Regions from separate parts of the Homo sapiens genome. Here all the other regions are linked to region 2. The links are contacts of gene promoters, found by promoter capture Hi-C in human tissues and cell types (Jung and others, 2019). All regions are on one chromosome and are shown on one strand. The core of a region is centred on a gene start or on the middle of the fragment in contact, and the rest is flanking DNA. Distances in the headings are between cores, read along the strand shown.

Region 1 (2,842 bases), core at 275-2,774, 620 kb after region 2:
AGTATCACATTTCCCCTGCTGGTGCTCATTCTCTCTCCTGCAGCCCTGTGAAGAGGTGCATTCCGCCATGATTGTAAGCTTCCTGAGGCCTCCACAGCAATGTGGAACTAAGTCAATTAAACCTCTTTCCTTTATAAATTACCTGGTCTCGGGGATTTCCTTATGGCAATGTGAGAACAGACAAGTACCTGACCCCACCCTCAAAATTATATGCACATTCCAGGTCACTCCCTATTTTCTATCCCTCACCTCCAGCTCCTGGCAACCATGAATCTGCTTTCTGTCTCTGTAGTGCTGGCTGCTCTGGACGTTTTCTATGAGTAGGATCATAAAACACATGGCCATGGTGTGTGCCTTCTTTCTTCTGGCATTATGTTTTTGAGGTGCAGCCGCATGGTGGCCTGTGTCAGTGCTTCATTCTCTCCATGGCTGAGGACACAGGCACATTCCATGGTGTGAACACACCATGCTTTGTTTATTCATTCGTCTTTCAATGGGCATTGGGGTTGTTCCCACTTTTTGGGTACTGTGAATAATGCTGCTATGAACATTCTCATACTAGTTTTGGTGTGAACATATGTCTGCAATTCCCTTGTGTATAAATACCTAGGAGCAGAAGCCGGGTCAGATGGTAGCTCTGTTTAATTTTTTAAGGAACTGCCAAACTGTTTCTACATTGGTTGCACCATGTTACTTTCCCACCAGCAATCTATGAGAAATCCAGTTTCTCCACATCTTCACTGCACTTGTCATTTCTGTTTTGTTTTTTATTATAGCCCTCAGCATGAGTGGAAAGTGGTACTTCCATAATGAGTAGCTGCTGAGTATCTTTTCACGTACTCATTGGTCATTTGTGTATCTTCTTTGGACAAAGGTCTCTTCGAATCCTTTGCCTACTGTTTAATTTGGTTATTTTTCTTTATATTGTTGAGTTCTAAGAATTTTTATATATTCTGGATACTTGTCCCAGATGTATGATTTGCAAATATTTCACTCATTCTCTGGGTTTTCTTCTCGCTTTTTTGATCATGAACTTTAATGCACAAAAGTTTTAAATTTTGATGAAATTCAATTTATGTATTTTTTTTCCTGTGGTTGTATGTGCTTCTGATAGCACATCTAAGAGAGTGCTACCTAATCCAAGACCATGAAAATTTACACTTACTTTTTTTATAAGAGTTTTATACTTTTAGCTCTTACACTTAGGTCTTTGTTGCATTTTGTGTTTGTTTTAGTCTAAATCTCTGACATGAGTAAAGCAGGACTCACCCGATAGCAGGTGCTCTCAGATCCCTGCCCATCCATTTCCGGCCAAAAGAGCCTTCAAGACAGGTCCAGCAGTGCCAGGAAGCTGAGGAGGAGGGTTGTTGTGACCACAAGGTCTGGAGACGGGAGGGCAGGGGTGTGTGTGTGTGTGACTATGTGTGAGTGTGTGTATGTATGTGTGTGTGTGTGTGTGTGTGTGTGTGTGTGTCCCTCTTGCAGCTTCTTAGTGTACCTGCAAATGCCCCCAAGAGCAGTCGGCATGCCTGTCCTGGGCCTGTGGCCCTGATGCCCTCCCATCCATGCCCTGCCCTTCCTGCTCTGCTGTGAATCTGTGGGGTCTGGGGGAGCAGAGGCATAGAACTGGGCTTCCCACACCCCTGGTCAGCTGGCCTCAGGCTGGGTTGAGACAGCGAGAGGCCCTGGTGGGCGATGGGGCCAGGGAGGACCTGGGGTATTTTCCCACCCTTCTCCAGAGACTTCCACATCCTAGAGCGGGGCTAGAAGCTGACGTGGTCCCCACAGCCCAAGTACCCCAGTGCCCTTTCTGCACCCCCTGCAAGGCAGAATGAATGTATTTTCTTAAAGTTATGGTTAATTCCCTCTTGTTTCTGCAAAGCCCCCACACCCACACCTTCTACCACATTACTTTGAACTTGAGTGAGTTTTCCTAGAATTGACTAAATTATGTTTTCTGCATCAGTCAGAATATTGTGGTAAAAGAGAGACTAACTCCAGTTACATAAAAGTAATTGCATTTGGCATGACTGAGCTTATGAATTCTGAAATGCAAGCCCTCCGCAGCCGACACAGGAGGCTGCTGTTGGGATGCCTGTCACAGCGCAATCTGTCCTCATTCAGCCCGGCCTCACCCCCCACCATCCCCTAACCAATGGACACGCAGGGCACTGGGCCCAAGGAGAGCCTGCTCTGAGTGTGAGTCCAGGTAGAAGGCCCCGCTCAGGAACCCAAAGCAAAAAGAGGTCAGCATGGTGCCATGTCTACAGCGTTGCCACTGCTCAGCCCATTGATTAGGGGACAGCTTCCCCCACTCAGCTTCCCATACCCTCCAGTTCTCCCGCAGACCTAGGAATAGAGCCAGGCAGGCTCTGGCCCACGGGCTCGAGTGGTGAGAACTGGGGCTCCTGGTCCACATCCCACGCCATCCCAGCAGCTCAGGGGTTGCTGGCAGAGGCGAGGACACAGGACTGAAGGGGCTGTAGCCACGGTTCAGCCACACGAGCCTGGGGGAGAAAGGCAGCCCCTAGGCATGGCTGTGTTCTCTCCTCTGCAAGAGGACTGGGCTGCCTTTTTCTGCTGGACCGAGGGTCTCCAGCTCAGAGAACCCTGGGACTGCCTTTCCAGTGGGAGTGAGAAGGCAGCTGCCAGCTCCCCCACCCAGCTGCTCACAGGCCCACGGCCCCATCCCACACACCCCTCCCCAGGGAGAGACAGTCACCCTCCCACGTCTGCCCTCCTGCCTCTGCTCTTCACAACACCATTTTTCTCTTCTTTGGGGAAAGTCTGCCCTCATCCTGTGTGTTGGGCCAGGCTTAGCTGTGTCAGCACACAAACACCT
Region 2 (2,700 bases), core at 53-2,552:
ACCCCAAGGTTTTGGAGCTCCTGAATGTCCACTGCGCTGGGCGAGGGGCCCTGCCAGGACCCCACTGGGAGACTGTCCGCGGACGAGGGCCAGGCCGAGTACTTGTGTGGGGCGGGGAGGCCTCGGCTCCTGGCCCGACTCCCTGGGTAGGAGTCCATTGAAGGCAGCGGTGGGGCAGGAGCCTCAGAAGGAACCAACGAACCCAGCGGGAGTTCACCCGGCCGCCCCAGCGGGGGGGCGCTGACCCCACGACGTGTGCTCTAAATCTTCCGGGTCCACAGGAGACGCGAGTCCCGGCTGCGGAACAGGGGAGGGGGCTGTAGGAAGAGGCCACGTCGCTGCCCCCAGGCAGGGTTTCTAAGCTGAGCTGGGGACAGCTACTGGGTGTGGAGTGAGGAAGGCTCTCCCCGCGCCCCCGGCTCAGCACTGTACCAGGGCAAGGCAGGGCCAGCCTGGCCGACCTGGGGTGGAGGGGAAGGAGGCTGAGGGCCAGGTCCTTGTCCAGTGGGGAGCTGGGGGCCAGCATCCCTGTGCCCCCAACACCCTCAACCGAGCAAACTCGGGGGCTCAAGGCTTTCGGGGTGCCCCCACTCCGTAGCCCCTGCCCTTCCTCGCTTTGTGGGTGCGTGCTCCTGCCCCCGCCACTCCCACCCGGAACGCACGCAGCGCGCAGAGCTCGGGGCGGCCGCGATGCCTGCTCTCGCCCAGCCCGGCTGCTCCGGGGCTGCTGCAAGCCGGCGACCCGGGCTCCGGGTGGGCGACCCCCTCACAACTCCACGGGCTCCTGCGGCTGCGGCGCGCTCCCAGCGCACGGAGCCGGGACGGCAGCCGGCGCCTCCCCAGGACTCGCGTGCGCTCGCCCGGTCGCTCAGCCCGCGTCCCTGCCTCAGTCTCCCCACCCAGGAAATGGGTCCAGGGCGCCAGGGCTCCCGCGCGACGCCGACGTGCACTGCTGGGGTCTTCCCGGTCCCCGCCACCCGGCCCGCGGAGACCCCCGGCTCCGGCCCAGGAGCTCCGCGCCCGTCCCGCCCGCGCGCTCACCACTCCCAGGCTGAGGTCCTCGGCGCGCGGCGCGGGTGCGGGCGCGGCGCAGCCCCCGCGGGTCCCCAGCGCCAGCAGCAGCAGCAGCGGCAGCGGCAGCCGCGAGAGTCCGGGCCCTGGGGGCGGCGGGCCGGGTCCCCGGGCTGCGCGGCGCCGCATGGCGCTCACATGGGCCCGCGGGCGGCGTGCAGGGTCCCGCGCCCTCCGCTTCGCGTTCCGCAGCCCGGCGCCCTCCGCTCTCCGCGGCGCCCCCGCCGGACTGAGCCCCGCGCGGCAGCCTCAAGCGGCGGGGCGGGGCCATGCAAATGTATGCTAACGAGGCCGGCCGCCTTAAAGGGCCCGCGCCGCCTCGGACGCTGCCACCCCCGCCCGCCCCGCCGTGTCCGCGACGGGACTGGGTCCGCGGCATCACAGGGAAGGCGTTTCCCCGGGTGTCTTAGGACGCTCTTGGGGCGGCGGGGACGCGCGGGATGGGCGCGGAGGCGGGGGTCGGGGCGCCTGCGGGGAGCTGACCCTGACTCCCCTCTCCGGCCGCGCTCCCGGGTCCACCCCCCACGGCGCCGAGGCCCGGGTTCAGACCCGGGTTCAGGCCCCGGAGCCGCCGCCGCAGCGCAGCAGGTGGGCGCTTGGTGGAGCCCGCGGACCGCGGGAGAGGGAGGGTGGGGCTTGGGGGGCGCGGGGGACTGGAGGGCGAGGGCGGGTGTTGGGGGGGCTGGGGTCCTCGGCGGAGGCTCTGCGGTCCCTGCGGGCCTGGGAGCGAGAATGTTAACTTGTAATGTTTGTTGGAGCGCAGCGTGTGCCTGGCACATGCCCAGGAGTTACATAAATAATTTCATTTACTTACAACATTTATGAGATGAAAACTATGATTTCCATTTCGCAGACAAAGAAACTGAGGCCCAAAGAAATGAAGTAACTTATGGGAGGTCCTGGAGCGGGCAAGCGGCAGAGCCAGGGTCAGAGCCCGAGCAGGCGCTTGTGTGGATTGAACTCGTGCAAGTTGCGTACAGGCTGCCCACCGAGTGGGAGATCTTGGGAGAGGGCAGGGGGTGAGGTTCAAGGGTAACCCTTGCCTTTATTCAGCTTCTCCTCGTGCTGGACAGCATGGCTTCCCCTCCTTCCCAGGCCCTCCTGCTCCACCACCCCAAATCGCAGCTGGTACTGTCAGGACTGAGGTCTCATTCTACGGACAGGGAAACTGAGGCTCGGCCCCTTTTACCAGAACTGGTCTCAGGGAAGTGGTGCCCCTCCCCTCCTGTGAGGGCCGACTCCCCCCAACCACCCCCCCCCCCCCCCCCCCGCTTCCCTGGGTACTCTGGCCCATCCTGTCCCTGCTGCCCTCAGAGCCTCCCTGGCCCGGTCTGAACAGGGTGATTCCACACCTGCTTCAGATGACCTTGGTTCGGACTGATGGGATCACCTGTAGGAGGTGGGGACTTTCACAGGACATCCCGGATTGTTTTTTCTTTCTTTCTTTTTTTTTTTTTTGCTCTGTTGCCCAGGCTGGAGTGCAGTGGCACGATCTTGGCTCACTGTAATTTCTGCTTCCTAAATTCAAATGATTCTCCTGTCTCAGCCTCCTGAGTAGATGGGATTTCAAGCGTGCACAACCGTGCCCAGCTAATTTTTGTATTTTTAGTAGAGACGGGGTTTCACCAT
Region 3 (2,700 bases), core at 47-2,546, 700 kb after region 2:
GGGCGGGGCTGCCACTCACACCCAGACAGGAGGGCCGGCCTGTCACTCACACCCAGACAGCAGGGCGGGCCTGTCACTCACACCCAGACAGCAGGGCGGGGCTGTCACTCACACCAGACAGCAGGGCGGGCCTGTCACTCACACTCAGACAGCAGGGCGGGCCTGTCACTCACACCCAGACAGCAGGGCCGGCCTGTCACTCACACCCAGACAGCAGGGCGGGGCTGTCACTCACACCCAGACAGCAGGGCCGGCCTGTCACTCACACCAGACAGCAGGGCGGGCCTGTCACTCACACCAGACAGCAGGGCGGGGCTGCCACTCACACCCAGACAGGAGGGCCGGCCTGTCACTCACACCCAGACAGCAGGGCGGGGCTGTCACTCACACCCAGACAGCAGGGCCGGCCTGTCACTCACACCCAGACAGCAGGGTGGGGCTGCCGTCCACACCCAGACAGCAGGGCAGGGCTGCTGCCCACACCCACTCTATGGAACACTTTGTGGGTCTGAGACAGACTCAGGCAGCTCTTCCTTGGCGAAGAAGCCACACCCCACATACACTGAAGGCCGCCATGGGGTGGGTATGTAGTTACAGTCCCCCTATCTGCACAAAACCCCAGGATACCCATGAAACCAGCATCACGGGTTGCCTGTTTGGAGGGAGGGTGGAAACCAGGGAATGCAAAAACATACATAGGCAGACACATTTATGCATAGATTCTTAAGCTTTTCCTGTAAATTTTGTGTTGCCATTTCATAAATCAGATTCTTTAAATTTTAGTTTTAAACAATTATAAATTAAAAGGAAATAATATGAAACCCATTTCCTGTGAATGACGGAGCAGTGTCCTTGGGGTCAGGTGGAATAGAAACTCAGCCATGCAGTGTTCCAGTGATTCAGGGGATGGAGAAACCGTGAAGCCTGGGACCCATGAGAGGGATGCCTGGAGATGCTGGAGAGGATCTCGAGCAACTTGAGTGAGTGCAGAGTTCCCATCAACCAACACCCCACCTGAGCTCAGGGTCCCATCACAACCAACCCAACCAACACCCCACCTGAGCTCAGGGTCCCATCACAACCAACCCAACCAACACCCCACCTGAGCTCAGAATCCCATCACAACCAACACAATCAACACCCCACCTGAGCTCAGAATCCCATCACAACCAACACAGTCAAACACCCCACCTGAGCTCAGAATCCCATCACAACCAACACAACCAACACCCCACCTGAGCTCAGAGTCCCATCACAACCAACCCAACCAACACCCCACCTGAGCTCAGAGTCCCATCACAACCAACCCAACCAACACCCCACCTGAGCTCAGGGTCCCATCACAACCAACCCAACCAACACCCCACCTGAGCTCAGGGTCCCATCACAACCAACCCAACCAACACCCCACCTGAGCTCAGGGTCCCATCACAACCAACCCAACCAACACCCCACCTGAGCTCAGAATCCCATCACAACCAACACAACCAACACCTCACCTGAGCTCAGGGTCCCATCACAACCAACACAACCAACACCCCACCTGAGCTCAGAATCCCACCACAACCAACACAACCAACACCCCACCTGAGCTCAGAGTCCCATCACAACCAACACAATCAACACCTCACCTGAGCTCAGAGTCCCATAACAACCAACCCAACCAACACCCCACCTGAGCTCAGGGTCCCATCACAACCAACCCAACCAACACCCCACCTGAGCTCAGGGTCCCATCACAACCAACCCAACCAACACCTCACCTGAGCTCAGGGTCCCATCACAACCAACCCAACCAACACCCCATCTGAGCTCAGGGTCCCATCACAACCAACACCCACATGAGCTCAGAGGTCTCATCATCACTCCTGCTTTGCCTCTGGAGGCTATAAAGCGTGGTTCTGCCCCGGACCTCTCAGCTGTAAAGCTGAAAGATGCACACATGACTGTTCCCAGACTTTTCTGACAAGGCCACCGAAAGGATGATCAACTTGCAGCAAAATGTTTTGCCAACATGAAACACTACGAGTGATTAATTTGAGATTTCAAGTCCTTTACTTTATCTTGACCGCTTTGCGTTAAGATGCACTCTAAGTGTTTCATAACAGTTAAGCTGATCACATTATTACTTGTCAGAATTCATCATCTTTCCTTTTTCTCCAAAGATTTTGCTGGGTCTTTTTTTTTCTTTTAGCCTGGGTCAGTCTGGTTTCATTTTCCAGGCACATTTTTTCCATCTTATCAGGATGATACATTTGCTGTGGCTTCCTAAGAGGAGGAGCGGCTCACCATGGCCTCCAATCCTGCATCGGTGCGGTGGGGGACTTTGGCTGCGAGTGGCACAAATCTGACATTTCATGAAAATATAATACAGAATCAGGCCTGGCCCCCCTCACTCCATTTCACTCATCCTCATCCATGCCTTGCTGTATGGTACACCCACACTCGACTACAAATCGGAAAATGCCCTGGGACTGAGGCATGTACAGTGTGAGTACCATGGATATTCCAGCAGCTAAGCATCTCCCCACTAAAGGCAGATGTCAAAGAAACAACTCACAGGCCTCACTGCAGAAGAAAAACTGGAATGCACATGGAGGCAGTAGAACTGTAAAGCAAAGGTCTCGTGGCTACTATGAAGGCCAAGATCACGGTGATCTCTGGTGGGAGGAGGGAGGCAGGACTGCATAGGAATCCTGG

What was found. The method cuts DNA at HindIII sites, captures the fragments that hold promoters and counts their contacts. A contact is called where the count stands out against the background at its distance.
Region 1: a fragment that was not itself captured here is called in contact with the fragment with the promoter of MMP17 in region 2 in 1 of the 25 tissues and cell types used here (dorsolateral prefrontal cortex).
Region 3: a contact is called between a fragment that was not itself captured here and the fragment with the promoter of MMP17 in region 2, in 1 of the 25 tissues and cell types used here (lymphoblastoid cells).

The regions. Positions count from the first base shown.
Region 1 is chr12:131,210,714-131,213,555 of GRCh38, reverse strand. LINC01257 (long intergenic non-protein coding RNA 1257) reads right to left here. Exons shown (of 5, transcript NR_026670.2): 5 at 625-1,351. Among named protein-coding and RNA genes, the nearest start is that of LINC01257, 47 kb to the right of the region's middle. The HindIII fragment of the contact is 6,972 bases long and covers 1-2,842 here.
Region 2 is chr12:131,826,995-131,829,694 of GRCh38, reverse strand. It overlaps MMP17 (matrix metallopeptidase 17), which reads right to left and starts at 1,302. Exons shown (of 10, transcript NM_016155.7): 1 at 1,042-1,302. The coding sequence starts at 1,200. RefSeq lists a silencer at 1,308-1,437. The HindIII fragment of the contact is 32,715 bases long and covers 1-2,700 here.
Region 3 is chr12:131,126,608-131,129,307 of GRCh38, reverse strand. The region is part of intron 20 of ADGRD1 (adhesion G protein-coupled receptor D1); the gene reads right to left. Among named protein-coding and RNA genes, the nearest start is that of LINC01257, 37 kb to the left of the region's middle. The HindIII fragment of the contact is 4,092 bases long and covers 1-2,700 here.